Linked DNA regions of Homo sapiens: region 1 is linked to region 2. The links are contacts of gene promoters, found by promoter capture Hi-C in blood cells and fetal thymus (Javierre and others, 2016). All regions are on one chromosome and are shown on one strand. Each heading gives the region's core, a stretch centred on a gene start or on the middle of the fragment in contact. The rest is flanking DNA. Distances are from core to core; before and after follow the strand shown.

Region 1 (3,225 bases), core at 75-2,574, 900 kb before region 2:
TAAAACAACGTTGTTTTTGTGTTTTTTCCCTCCATGCATAAAACGGAAAGTAAGGAGCTGTCATTTTACTTAAAAGAAAAAAATAAAGATTATATTTGCAACACCTGAGGAAGCAAAGAATAAAATAACATTATCAGCTGAGCACGGTGTCTCATGCCTGTAATCCCGGCAGTTTTGGAGGCAGGAGGATCATTCGAGGCCAGGAGTTTGACATTGGCCTGGGCAACAAAGTGAAACCCCCATCTCTACACAAAACTTTAAAAATTACCCAGGCATGGTGGCACACCTGTAGTACTAGCTACACGGGAGGTTTGTTGAGTGTAAGAGGTCAAGGCTGCAGTGAGCTATGATTGCGCCACTGCACTCCAAACTGTGCAACAGAGTAAGACCCCATCTCTAAGAAAAAAAAAAAAGGTAACATTCTCAAAGTCCATTATCGAAAAAAGAGAGAGAGACAAAAGAGGCACAGTGAGTGTAAGAAAAGATCTGAATTTCATTTGATCTCCAGACCACTTTTTCCCTCCTCTTACCGCTCCCCCCACGCCCACCAAAAGTCTTTCTGAAACTCAAAGATTCATTTGAATATCATGACAGCATAATAAAAATGCTACTGGATCAAAAGCAAGCTGGATGAGCACGAGTATGTAGTTCAGTACCTGTTTGTTGATACCAAGCGGACTGCTCTATTGCACCAGAGAAAACGTGTGTGTGCTGCAAAGAAGCTTCTCCAGCTTAGGTGAAACATTCCACATCACACAGAAGGCAACCCTGACAACCACCCCATCTGCTTAGTGGGAATGCCAACTTCAAGACACACCAAACACTAAACATAACTTAATATGAGGTTTGCTATAATGGTGAACACTTAACAGTACTCAGTCCTGTTTAATCCTGTTTAATGTTTGGATCTGTGAGTCTATCGAACTATATTAACTATCAGATCATCTATGTAAATTTGTACAAATTTGCCCAACCAGGACCAAGCAGAAAAAAATTCTTTTTAATAAAAAGTTAACAAATATGAGCAACATTATTAGTAATATAAATAAACGTGGACAGCAAGACCAAAGGGCACCAAAGGAGACGATGCACCTTGCAGAAAAGACAAGAGATACTCATTTTTCCCTGTCCTCTCCATTTAAAGAGAAGTGCTTCCAGGGAAGCCATCCTGAAAAGCAATGAAGGAAAAAAGCTAGGGAGAAGGGGAAGCCCGTGAGATTGTTAATTCCAGTCTTCCTATATTATATGCTACAATGGGGTATTATCTGGTCTATTAGAACAGGGAAAAAGTAAACTATAAAATTTTACTTTTATTTAGTAGATTTAACACACTTCTAAACTAACTAAAGTTGTTGGTTTAAATGGCTGGTCAATTTGCTTAATTCTGTAAAATATTCATGTATGTTATGTATATACGTGTGTGTGTGTAAATGTTAGAAGAAACATTCTCACTAATACCTTTCTCTCACACATACACACAGAATGATCTCTTTATTTCCACGGTAACTTGTTTTTATGCTATACTAACTCAAGATGTAGACTAACTGGGCAAAAGGCATAAAACTGAAATCTTTGCCTGCTTATGCTTGCATATCTGAAACTAATTTTTCTCCCAAAAATAAATTAGAAAGATATGACATGACCAGCTCTTATCTCTTGATACTTCTATGCAAAATGCAAAGAGAAGAACAGAGAAAAGAACATAAAATTGTTAGCTAAAAGGTGAACTTAGCTTATAATTCTCTTTTTCAAAATCACCTATTCAAGAAATATTTACTAGGCAGCCACTATGTGCCAACCATGGTGTTCTGACTGACTGGACATAATCATGATTTGAGATATCTGAAAATCCAGAAAACATCATTATTTTGAAATTAACCTGTATTTAATAATTTAAGTTTTATGCAGTTAAGAATATAAGCTTGAATATTCAATACACTCTGTACAGTTCAAAATTTTGTTGGCAACCAGCCAAATTTAGACAGGCTAATTATTTCAAGCATTCTCATATCCATCTACTGCTACTACTTATGATTCTTGGTCCTGAGACAGTACTCTAGTTTTATTTCTAGCATTAGACACAAACATTCAAAAACCATTTTCTAAAATATTATTAGTCCAATGCAGGAATCACTAGCTTTGTTTTTAGATACCTTTTGCTATTCTCTTTTATAATGTTTTTAAAGTGTTGATTCCCTTCTGAATCCCTGAAGCCCCCTATTTCTTTAGAGCAGTTCACAATTGCAAATGAAACTCTTGCCAACTGACCTTATCAGTAGAGAGCTATGAAGGGTCAGGATTCTAAGACTTAGGGTTTAATGACCAAGGTCTAGCCTGCAGAGTTCCATGTCACATCTTCAGAGAATAAATACCACAAGACAGACACAGACATAATACATACCTGATAAAAAACAAAGGAAGTTCAACTCCCACAAATAGCCCTGTTGACTTGTACCAGAAAAGCATCTACTTCCTTCTCCTTTCACCATAAATGCAAATAGGTGTTTGTCACTAAGAGTAGGACACAATAAAAGAAAGTAACACCAGCGGGTGCGGTGGCTCATGCCTGTAATCCCAACACTTTGGGAGGCCAAGGCAGGCGGATCTCCTGAGGTCAAGAGTTTGAGACCAGCCTGGCCAACATGGTGAAACCCTGTCTCTACTAAAAATACAAAAATTAGCCAGTGTGGTGGCGGGCTCCTGTAATCCCAACTACTCGGGAGGCTGAGGCAGGAGAATTGCTTGAACCTGGGAGACGGAGGTTGCGGTGAGCCGAGATACCGCGCCACTGCACTCCAGCCTGGGCGACCGAGTGAGACTCCGGCTCAAAAAAAAAAAAAAAAAAAAAAGAAAATAAAGAAAGTAACCCCAAAATGCCAACCAGGAGAAGAAAATTTGCATTTCTTTTTAAAGAACAGGTCCGCCAGTTGACAGGACTATTATTGTCTAGCACATATAGGACCATGAGATCAGAAAAATCAGGTGTAAATGCTAAAGTTTAGATAAAGAGTCTATAGAGAAAAAGTGGCTGTTCCAGAGGAAGAGAACCTCAGGTACACAGGGCTGCTGCTTCACACATCAAATTCTGTGTTGAACACACACCCAGAGTTATGCAATGGGGAGATCTTATAGGTACATACAGGCACTCTGAAATGACCATCATCCCATGTCTCACTCACGGACCTCAAAGTCAAAATCAGTTGCAATTTTGGATTTAAAAATCAG
Region 2 (2,933 bases), core at 164-2,663:
TTGTCCCCCGTTTCTGGACCAAACCAATGTATTTCTTAAATGTATTTGATTGATGTCTCATGCCTCTCTAAAATGTATAAAACCAAGTGTGCCTGGACCACCTTGGGCACATGTTCTCAGGACCTCCTGAGGGCTGTGTCAGGGGCCACGGTCACTCACATTTGGTTCAGAATAAATCTCTTCAAATATCTTAGAGTTTGACTTTTTTCGTTGACCCACCAATTGGCCGGATTATTACTCATTATTTACTTGACAAACACATTAGGAGCCCTGTCCCCGGAAGCTCGCTGTCACGAGGGGCCTCTGACATCTCCTTCTTGAGAGAAAGGTCGCCTGGCCTGGGTGAGGTCGTAGTTCCCGCGACCCCGTGCTTGCAAGTACTGGCTGCCTCCTACTATAGTGTAAGCTCCAGGAAGGATCCCGCGGGGGACCTGACAGCTCACGGTCCTGGCCGACAACCGCCCTGGGAGCGGAATGGATGGAGCCCGCAGTCGTCCCGGCGCACTGGGCAAGCTCTGCTCCCACTGTGGCAGGCCAGATCTCCATTAGCAACCAGAGCAGCTCTCACCAACGCCTCACTGTCATTCTGATGCATGTATAAGTTAAACATTGGAGAAACTGGTGCCTTAGGAGAAAGGCTAGAATGTAAAGACAAGTCCATTAGGATCCCGCCTGAGCTTTTTCAACCCCTAGAGTTTAATTAAAATAATGGAGTTGTTCTTGCACACCTTGTACCAGGACCCACTTTAGATTATTTCCAAGGCTCTGAAGCAATTGTCTAGACACCTGACCCTATTACCGTTAAAGATTGGCTTGAGTGAAACACTTTGGCTTTCGACTTGTAAATGCACTGAATGTATTTAAGCACTAGAAAAACTTGTATTAATAATTTTGAGTTGGTCTGGTGAGTTACTCCGACCTTCTCCCTGTAACCTGTTGCAGAAATAAACTCCGTTCTTTCCCAGTCTGTCTGCATCTCGTTACTGAACGGCGAGAACAAGCAGTCGGACCCGGGTGGGTCGGGGAACACAACCTCACCCGCAGCCGAAACCCCTCACCCGCATCCCTTCCCGGCCCGTGAGGCGTCCGCAGGCGGCGGCGCTCGGGACACGGCGTTCGCGGTGCTCGCCTCCGCTGCCCGAGGGGAAAAGGGCAGGAGAAATCTGAGGAGTCCTTGGGCCAGGAGCCAAAGCCCCTCAAGTGCCCGGGCGCGAACCCCAGGCGCCGAGCTCTCACGTCTGTCTCCGCCAGTACGCTAGAGCCGGGGTAGTGGGCCAGCACTCACCGGCCCAGCCAATCCAGGACCCGCTCTGCACTGCCCCACCCGCCGCGCACACGCACGCGTCCTTTTGCGGCCGCTGGCCTCTGATTGGCTGGGACGGCTGTGGGTGGGGAGAAGCCGGGAGGACTGGGTGCGCCTGCAGGGATCGGAAGCCGGTTGGGGTGTGAGAGGTTTTCTCGCTCTAGGTAAGCGAAACAAGCCGGGGGACTGCGAGCCAGGGACTCGGGCCGCGGGGCGGGAAGAAGTGGGGCAGCGCTTGGCCAGGCCGAAAGGACTTTGGGGGTGGGGGCTGGGAGTCCGTGTCTCGAATGAGGGAGGAGAGGTGGAGTTGCCGGGGCTCAGGCCCGGCCTCGAGCATGGGCGGATGAGAGGAGTCGGGAGCCGAGGCCTAGGGTCCTTCGGGTGAGGGGAGACGGAGCCAGCGAGGAGATGGAGCAGAAGCTTGTGGAGTGAGTTGCCGAGCGGGGAAGACTCGCTGATGGGGTGGTAATGAGAGACGGGGGCCAGGAGGGTGTTGACTGGGCCCGACGGCGGGGAGCGAGGAGCGGGAGCTTCCCCGGAGCTTGGAACATTCTGAAGAGCGGGCTAAGCGGCAGGCGAGGCGGGATAGGAGAGCGAGCGCTCCGGTCACGGAGTCACGACAAGGTCACAGGAAGAGAGGCGGCGAGGAAGGTCGGGAGGTTGAGGGGAGGGCGTACTAGCAGAGGACCTTCCAGTCCTGGTCTTGCTTTTCTCCCCGACCTGGTGTTTCCTCCACCCTGGGAAAGTGATAAGGCCTAGGGTCCTGTGTAGTGCTTCTGTGACCGAATTAAATTTTTCTCCTGCCGAGTCGGCGGGTTAGAGATTACAAAGCACAGCGTAAGGGCAGAATTAGGAGCAGCCGACATGATGCAGCAGTGATATTCGCCTTTGTCTTAAATTCCCGGAGTGGGAAGCAGCTATTTCCCTCTTCGGAGTAATCCCCACGACAGGGATCCCTGCTTCCGGAAGTACAAAGGCACTTTGGAGTAAGACAGGTTTGGATGGAAAGTTCTAACAGGTTGAAGCGGTGACAACCTGGTCATGAAGCTCCAGCATGACACACATATTTGGAGTCCTGTATACTAGGAGTTCTCTTTGTGCACCAGAGTCACTTGAAGGGGCTTCTTAAAGATTCCTTGAGCTCTGCCCCAGACCACCTGAATCCGGATCTCCATGCTGGGGCCTTGGCAGCCATTTTAAACAAGCTGATGGGCGACTGATGCAAAATCAGTTTGAAGCCAGCGTTGCTTTAGATAGTAATTCCCGTGACAAAATGACTGTGAAGAAAGATCCTTCATTCAACCTGTTACGTCTCCTGATGCTGGACGGCTCATCTTCCCTTAATGCCTCTTTAGGTTCCCTGTGGAAAGGTCTTCAGTCGTGTCTTACTAAGCGTACAGAATTAATTTGTGCTCTCCAAACTGACTTTAAATATCTGGTTACTGGTGCCTTTTTTAGCGTCTATTCAACTTTCTGACAGAAATCTGGGACAACTACTGTGGGTGGATGAGAAAACGATAATGAAGGAAAGTCTGGCAGTGGTGTAGTGAAAAAAGTCTTTTCAAATCACAATTGAAATTGTTAGATGAGTTAAGTCACTGAAGAAGATTCCGTTTACCTTAGGCATGAT

Evidence for each region. Contacts are between HindIII fragments. The CHiCAGO score rates a contact against its expected background, and 5 or more counts as called.
Region 1: a contact is called between a fragment that was not itself captured here and the fragment with the promoter of HIGD1A in region 2, in 1 of 17 cell types (neutrophils). The highest score is 6.2, in neutrophils.

The regions. Positions count from the first base shown.
Region 1 is chr3:43,703,658-43,706,882 of GRCh38, reverse strand. The region is part of intron 3 of ABHD5 (abhydrolase domain containing 5, lysophosphatidic acid acyltransferase); the gene reads right to left. Among named protein-coding and RNA genes, the nearest start is that of ABHD5, 14 kb to the right of the region's middle. The HindIII fragment of the contact is 1,199 bases long and covers 725-1,923 here.
Region 2 is chr3:42,802,970-42,805,902 of GRCh38, reverse strand. HIGD1A (HIG1 hypoxia inducible domain family member 1A) reads left to right here and starts at 1,413. Exons shown (of 4, transcript NM_014056.4): 1 at 1,413-1,467. RefSeq lists an enhancer at 1-376 and a silencer at 1,238-1,457. The HindIII fragment of the contact is 3,515 bases long and covers 1-1,725 here.